Regions from separate parts of the Homo sapiens genome. Here region 1 is linked to region 2. Evidence: promoter capture Hi-C in human tissues and cell types (Jung and others, 2019). All regions are on one chromosome and are shown on one strand. The core of a region is centred on a gene start or on the middle of the fragment in contact, and the rest is flanking DNA. Distances in the headings are between cores, read along the strand shown. Region 1 has its middle 11 kb from the start of MRGPRX4. Region 2 holds the start of PTPN5 (protein tyrosine phosphatase non-receptor type 5).

Evidence for each region. The method cuts DNA at HindIII sites, captures the fragments that hold promoters and counts their contacts. A contact is called where the count stands out against the background at its distance.
Region 1: a fragment that was not itself captured here is called in contact with the fragment with the promoter of PTPN5 in region 2 in 1 of the 25 tissues and cell types used here (spleen).

Annotation. Positions count from the first base shown.
Region 1 is chr11:18,182,314-18,186,240 of GRCh38, reverse strand. No RefSeq gene overlaps it. Among named protein-coding and RNA genes, the nearest start is that of MRGPRX4, 11 kb to the right of the region's middle. The HindIII fragment of the contact is 3,276 bases long and covers 1-3,200 here.
Region 2 is chr11:18,789,527-18,793,979 of GRCh38, reverse strand. It overlaps PTPN5 (protein tyrosine phosphatase non-receptor type 5), which reads left to right and starts at 2,182. Exons shown (of 15, transcript NM_006906.2): 1 at 2,182-2,455. The HindIII fragment of the contact is 10,569 bases long and covers 1-3,477 here.

The sequences.
Region 1 (3,927 bases), core at 313-2,812, 610 kb after region 2:
CTCCATTCAGTAATTCCAGAAATAAATAATTCATATGTTTAAAATTATGTACCACTTTGAATAGTGTGATGAAATCTCTTGTGGTCCTGCTCTGTCCTTCCTGGGATGTGATTCACCCCTTTGCCTAGCATATCCATGCTGTGTACCCTATCCATCCATTTGTAGCCCTCTCAGTTGCTAGATCAGTTGTTGTGGTATCACAGTGCTTGTGTTCAAGTAAACTTTATTTTACTTATTAATGGCTCCAAAGCATTAGAAATAGGGATGCTGGCAATTCAGATACGCCAAAGAGAAGTGATAGAGTGCTCCCTCTAAGTAAAGGTGAAAGTTTACAACTTAATAAGGAAGAAAAAAAATAGAATGTGGAGGCTGCTAAGGTCTACAGTAAAAACTAGTTACATCATAAAGGAGGCAAAAAAAAATCATGCTGGTTTTGCTGTTGCACCTCAAACTGCAAAAGCTATGGCCACATTACATGACGATTACTTAATTAAGATAGAAAAAGCATTAAATTTTTGTGTTGAAGAGGTGAACAGAAATGTGTTTTGGTTGCTGTCAATTGAAACACTTTTCATACAACCAGTGGGGGTCTTGGAATTTATCCCTTAAAGATAAGATGGAACTACTGTAAAAGGAAGGAAATAATAAAGATTGGAAAAAAAAGTAAAAAGCAAAGGGGCCAGGTGCGGTGGCTCACGCCTGTAATCCCAGCACTTTGGGAGGCCAAGACGGGAGGATCACGAGGTCAGGAGATCGAGACCATCCTGGCTAACATGGTGAAACCCCGTCTCTACTAAAAATCCAAAAAAAAAAAAAAAAAGAAAAATTAGCCGGGCATAGTGGCAGGCACCAGTAGTCCTAACTACTCGGGAGGCTGAGGCAGGAGAATGGCATGAACCCGGGAGGCAGAGCTTGCAGTGAGCTGAGATCACGCCACTGCACTCCAGCCTGGGCGATAGAGCGAGACTCCGTCTCAAAAAAAAAAAAAAAGCAAAGGTACAATAGAAAAATAACAATAATGATGAAATTTATATTTTTGAAAAGATAATAAAATTGATAAATTCCTAGCAATACCAATGAAGAAAAATATAAATAGAGAAAACACAAAACTCACACTGGGAATCAAAGAGAGACTATCATGGTACGTACTACCAGTATTAAAAATACAGAAATAAAAAGCTCCTTTGAATGATTTTTTGTCAAAATTTGACAATTTAGAAGAAATAGAAGTACTCTTTTAAAAACGCACCTTCCCAAAATTGATCAAGAAGATACAGTAATTGCAAATAATCCTGTATCTACTAAGGAAATTGAATTTATAATTAAAAACTCTTCTACAAAGAAAGCTCCAGGCACACATGGCCACACTGGTGAATTCTATCAAACACTTAATAATTAAAAAAATCAAGATCTAACCTTCAAGCTTCAGAAGTATAAAAAACATGAACAAATTAAGACCAAAATAAAAAGAAACAATAAAGAGCAGAAATCAGTGAAACAGAAAACAAGCAATAGAGATAAAATCAAAGCTGTGATAGTACCATGAAAAGATTAATGATATTCATAAATTTTTAGCAATACTGAACAATAAACAAAGAGAAAATAACATCATTATCAAGAATGAGAGTGGGAATATTGCTATAGTCTCTAAAGACATTAAAAGGATAATAGAGAACTATCACGAACAAACTTATGTCAATAAATTCAAAGCTTAGATGAAAGGGACACTTTTCTTGAAAGACATAACTCACCAAAACTGACATGAGAAGCAATAGAAAATGTGAATAGCTGTATGTCTGTGAAAGATATATATATATATAGTTGTTGTTTTTTTTAATGAAGTCTCACTCTGTCACCCAGGCTGGAGTGCTGCAACCTCTGCCTCCCGGGTTCAAATGATTCTCTTGCCTCAGCCTCCTGAGTAGCTGGGATTACAGGCGCACACCACCAAACCTGGCTAATTTTTGTATTTTTAGTGGAGATGGGGTTTCATCATGTTGGCCAGGCTGGTCTTGAACTCCTGACCTCAGGTGATCCGCCCGCCTTGGCCTCCCAAAGTTCTGGGATTACAGGCATGAGCCACTGCACCTGGCCAAGATACTACATTTTTAATTAAAACTTTCCACACATGCACATGCAAAAATTTAGATCCAGAAGGCTTGGATAAATTCTGTTGATATTTAAAGGGAAAAATCATATCAAATTTATACAAATATTTTATCATAAATTTCAGAAGGAAAGAATATTCTCCAACTTATTTTATGAGACCATGTATATCTTTAATAGTGAAATCTGGAAAAGATATTACCAATAAGGAAACTACAGACCAAAATTCTTTATGAATATAGATGCAAAAATTCTTAACACAGTAGTAGCAGGTAGAATCCTGAAATATATCAAAAGGATAATACAGAATGGCTAGTGGGGTTTATCTCAGTAGTGCAATGTTTGTTTAACATTTGTAAATCAATCAGTGAAATTTGCCACATTAACAGATTAAAGGAGAAAAATTATGTGAATATCTCAATAAACAGAGAAAAAGGATTTGACAAATTTCAACACCCATGGAGAAATGATTGACGGTCAAAGAGTATAAAACCTTAATTAAATAGGAGGAATAATTTTTTTCTTTGAGATATATTACATAGTGTGGTAAATATAGTAAATAATAATGTAGTACACATTTGAAAATAGCTGAGATTATACATTTTATTTTTTTACTTCGATAAGTTTTTGGAGAACAGGTGGTGTTTGGTTACATGGATAAGTAGTTTAGTGGTGATTTCTGAGATTTTGATGTACCCATCACCAGAACAGTGTATACTGTACCCAGTGTGTAGTCTTTTATCCCTCACCTACCTCCCACTCTTTTTCCTCCAGTCCCCAAAGTCCATTGTATCATTCTTATGCCCTTGTGTCCTGATAGCTTAGCTCCTACTTACAAGTAAGAACATCCAATGTTTGGTTTTCCATTCCTGAGTTACTTCACTTAGAGTAATGGTCTCCAACTCCATCCAGATTGCTGTGAATGCCATTATTTTGTTCCTTTTTATGGCTGAGTAGTAATCCATGGTGTGTGTGTGTGTGTGTGTGTGTGTGTGTGTGTGTATATGCATATGCATATGCATATATATATACATATGCATATATATATGACATTTTCTTTATCCACCTATTAATTCATGGGCATTTGGGCTGGTTCTATATTTTTACAATTGCAAATTGTGCTGCTATAAACATGCATGTGTGAGTGTCTTTTTCATAAATGATTTCCTTTCCTCTGGGTAGATATCCAGTAGTGGAATTGCTGGAACAAAAGGCAGATCTACTTTTAGTTCTTTAAGGAATCTCCACACTGTTTTCCATAGTGGTTTTACTAGTTTACATCCCCACCAGCAGTGTAAAAGTGTTCCCTTTTCACCACATCCATGCCAACATCTATTATTTTTTGATTTTTTAATTATGGCCATTCTTGCAGGAGTAAGGTGGTATTGTTTTGTGGTTCTGATCTGCATTTCCCTGATAATTAGTGATGTTGAGCATTTTTTCATATGTTTATTGGCCATTGGTATATCTTCTTTTAAGAATTGTCTATTCATGTCCTCAGCCCACTTTTCAAACGGATAATTTGTTTTATTCTTGATGATTTGTTAGATTTCCTTGTAGATTCTGGATATTAGTCCTTTGTCGGATGCACAGTTTGTGAAGATTTTCTTCCATTCCATGAGTTGTCTGTTTACTCTGGTGATTATTATTATTATTATTATTTTGCTGTGCAGAACTTTTTAGTTTAATTAAGTCCCATTGATTTATCTTTGTTTTTTTTTTACATTTACTTTTGGGTTCTTGGTCATGAAGTCTTTGCCTAAGCCAATGTCTAGAAGGGTTTCTCCGATGTTATCTTCTAGAATTTTTATGGTTTCAGGT
Region 2 (4,453 bases), core at 933-3,432:
CCCAGCCTAGGGCCTCCCAATCAGTGCCGTTGATCCACAAACATGTGCTGATGGGCCCTTCTGTGCTGGGAACTGGGGAAAGGGAAGACACCCCGCCCTACTTTCCAGGAGTTCATAGTGCACCTGGGGAAAAAGAGAAGGAACCACTATCACAGCAGACAGAAAGTAATGAGAGCTGAGTGTCCCTGGAAATGTGGGGAGAAGGAGGTGGTATTTAAGCTGGACCTTAAAAATTAGTCAAGACATGGGAGGGATGGCATTCCAGACTGAACAGGGACAACGTGAACAAAGGCCTAGAGACAGGAAAACACAGGGTTTGTTTAAAAAACAGATTAGTGAGGTGAGGCTGAAGGATTGGGATGGGAGGGGATTGAGATGGGAGCTGGCAATGAAGCCAGTGAGCCTCAGGGGCAGGGAACAGAAATAAAAGTCATAGCTGCATGGAGAAAATGAGGAGGGAGGGCCAGCAACTTTAAACAGGATAGTTACAGCAATTATCTTAGAAGCGACACATTGAGCCTGGGCAGGGTGGCTCACGCCTGTAATCCCAGCACTTTGGGAGGCCAAGACGGGCGGATCATGAGGTCAGGAGTTCGAGACCAGCCCGGCCAACATGGCGAAACCCCGTCTCAACTAAAAATACAAAAATTAGCTGGGCATGGTGGCGGGCGCCTGTAGTCCCAGCTACTCGGAAGGCTGAGACAGGAGAATCGCTTGAACCCAGGAGGCAGGGGTTGCAGTGAGCTGAGATGGAGCCACTGCACTCCAGCCTGGACGACAGAGCAAGACTCCGTCTCGGGGGCGGGGGGGTGGGGGGAGTGACACTTTGAAGAGGTAAAGGAGTAGCCGTGTGACTATCAGAGGGAAGAGTTTCCAGGCAGACAGACCAGCAGTGCAAAGGTCCTGAGGCCACAGGGCTGCCACGCCGATGATGCATTAAAAAGGCCAATGTGACTGGAGCGTGGGAGAAGGGGGAGGGTGGTAGAAAGAGAGGTTAAAGAGCTAAAAAGGAGCCAGTTCCTGAAGGGCTTTGCAGGTCATGAGGGGCCTTTAACTTTCCCTTGGATGAAATGGAGTGCTAGTGTAGGATTTCCAGTAAAGGAACGACGTGCTCTGACTTAAATTTTAAAGGATCGCCTTGACTGCTGTGTAGAGAATCAGCTGCAGGGGGCCAAGGGTGGAAGCTGGGAGACCAGTAAAGAGACTATAATGGAAATCCCGGGGGGCGGGGGTGGATGGTGGCTGGAACCAGGGTGGTAGCTACGTGGTGGCTCGCCTCTGATTCCCCGTGTAAAAAATGGAGTTTAGGATCCCTGCCCTGTGTGCAGCCCACAGCCTCAAGCCCCCATGGGGATGGAATGCCGGAAACCTCTGGCCAGCGCACTAGCAGCCTGGAGAATACGGAAGATTGTGGCAGGATTGTGGGGCACATGGGCAGCTCCCTGCTCGTCCGGGCCCCTGGTGCCCACGAGAAAACCAAAACAGGTGCGTGCCCCGCGCCGCACGTCAGGAGGGCAAGACTCAGTGGAGGGAGGGGCTGTCCACTCGCTCTAGCTCCCCAGAGGCTGAACAGGGAGAACTGGGAAAAAGGACGCCTCCTCAGCGTCCTAGAACGAGTCCTCGGCACCTGGTATTGCATGCGCCCTAGTATGGGGCCGCTCCACTTGCGCAGGTGTTGGCAACATGCGGGGAGCGCCACGGCATGCCCCCAATGAGCCGACTCCCTCCCCCAACTCTGCCCCCTTTGTCTCGCTGGCCCCTACTCCTTCTGTCTGCCTGTCTGTCCCGTCCCAGGTTCAGCGCGCACGGCCCTGCCGGGGTCCCTCTGGCAGTTGCCGTAGCCGCGCGGCCCGACCCGGGGCTCCCAAGAGGAGAAAAAATCATGAATGAAATGGATGCGCTGCTCCCACTCCTCCGCCCTCCTTGTCCAAGCAACCTTGGCATGGGGGCGACGACTGCGGAGACTCCGCGCAGAGTTGCTCGGGAGAGGGAGGCACCTGAGATGAGGTCAGGGGTTAAGGGTCTGTGATCCGGCCCCCTTCGTGCCCCGGGAGCAGGCCGCTCTCCCGGTCCCCCGCCCCGCCAGCCCTGCGCAATTCCCGGCGAGCGGCGGAAGCCCGCCCGGGGGCGGGGCGGAGCCGGGGCTGGGGGGTGCCAAACCCACCCGGCGGCTGCGCCAGCGACTCTGCAGCTGAAGCGCATTTGGTGAGGCGGTCGGGCGAGGGAGCGCGCACGGAGCGCGGGACGGAGCGCCAGGCGGACGGACCGAAGGACGGAGGCACCGAAGGACGGACGCCCCCGCACACGCAGACGCACAGAGCTCGGCGCGGCCCCCGTCGCATACACACTGGCACAGACACAAGCAGGGACACACGCAGACACACGCACACTCGCGCGCGCATCCTCCCGCCAGCCTGCCCGCCTGCTCGCCGGCGCCCGGAGCCCGCTCTGGCCGGTAAGTGCGGCGCCTCCGTCTGCGCCTTTGTGTGCGGAGCCGGAAGGTGGAGGGCGCGGGTCCCTCCTTCGGGCGGCCCCGCAACTGACACCTTCTCCAGCCCTCCCGGCCGAGGAGCCGGCGCCCGCCCCCGCCACGCCCCCGTGGGGCTCTGGGCGCCCGCATGCTGGGGGAGGGGTCCCCCATGCAGAGGAGGGGGCTTGTCGCTTGGTAGCCGGGAGGGAGCGGCAGCCACTCCCCACGAAGCCCGTGCGCGGTTCCGGGGAGGAATCGGGATAGTGGTTTGGGGTCTGAGCCTCTGCGGCCGGCGGAGGCTGGTGCGCGGCTCTGGGCTGCATCGCCTCTCCGGAGCCTGAAGCCCCTGAGGGAGATTGGAAATCGCCGCTAGCCTTCTGGCCTCTAAAGCGCGGCTCCCAGCCTTCCCATTGCTTCGCCTCCACCGACCCTTTAGCTTTAGCCTCCCGCGTCCCACCCTCCCCTAGAATACAAGCTTAGCGCGCTCCCCTCCCCCAGCATGCTGCTTGTTTCTGGTTGAGGCCCAGGCTCCTGCAAAACCGGAGATTGCCCGGGTCAGAGCCTTGGGAGGCTTACCTTATCAAGGATCACAGGGCTTAGAAGATCAGGGCCAGACGAATCCTGGGAACTTATTCAACCTTCTCATTTTACAGATGGGGAAACTGAGGCCCAGTAAGGTGGCGGACCAAGGTCACCAGAGAGTTAGTGGTAAAGCTTTCATTAGAATCTAGGGTTCCTGGTTTTCATACTCATGCTCCCCTCCTACACAACTAGATCCCACCCACATTGAAGCCCCAGAACCCCAAAATTCACCTGAGTGTACCACGAAAGTGTGTAATTCCAGCCCTGCCCCACTTGGAGGGGCAGGTGCCATTCATTTTCTACCTTCCCTACCTATGGTACCAAAAAAAGGGGAGAGGGGGCTTTAATTTGCTTCCTTCAACCTCAAAGGAGAGCTCTCATAACACTCAAACACTCCGGGTTTGGGATTCGTTTGGGAGAATGAAGAAGCCCAGGACCTGAGATCAGATTCCCAGGCGTTAGTCCTGATCCACCCAGGACACACTGAGCCTGAGTGTCCTCAGTTGGACCAGGTGATGTGGCATCCCAGGATTCGTCCTCTTCTCCACTGTGTCCTGACTGCATGCCCTCCCAGTCACCCTTCCCTCCCGCTTGAGGGCCAGATCTTCTACTCCAACCAGGCCCCTGTAGTCATCCCTTTGCGGAGGTCCCCACCTCTTTCTCCTTGGGGCTCGTTAAGGGCAGCCTCTTGGTGCTGCTGACAAAGCTGCTGGGGAAGCTTGAGTTACAATCACACCAGGTTCGGGTGGTTTCTCAGCACGCGGCTCCCTCAAGGGCAGCCAGGTGTCCCCAGAGCTGAGCCTGATGCCTGGTGCAGAGAGGGTGCCCCGAGAGATGTGTTGAAGGAGTACAAGCATAGACGGATGGTGAAGGGATGGAGTCAGTCACCTTGGAGGAGACTGGATGGAATAGTTGGCAAGGAGGGCAGTGTTCAGTCTCCAGGGACCTGAGGTTCTGGTCTCAAGAACTTCCTTTTTTTATTTTATTTCCATAGATTTTTGGGGAACAGGTGGTATTTGGTTTCGTGAGTAAGTTCTTTAACGGTGATTTGTGAGAATTTGGTGCACCCATCACCCAGAGTATACACTGAACCCAATGTGTAGTCTTTCATCCCTCATCCACCTCCCACCTTTCCCCCAAGTCCCCAAAGTCCATTGTGTCATTCTTATGCCTTTGCATCCTCATAGCTTAGCTCTCACTTATGAGTGAGAACATACAATGTTTGGTTTTCCATTCCTGAGTTACTTCACTTAGAATCATAGTCTCCAGTTCCATCGAGAACTTCCTTTTTGAGGGGGGTGAGCAGCTCATCATGGAGCTGAGCCAGGGTGGCCAAGTGGCAGAACTTCAGGGGCTGCCACTGACAGTGTAGTCCATGTAGATGGCATTGGCTATGAAGTT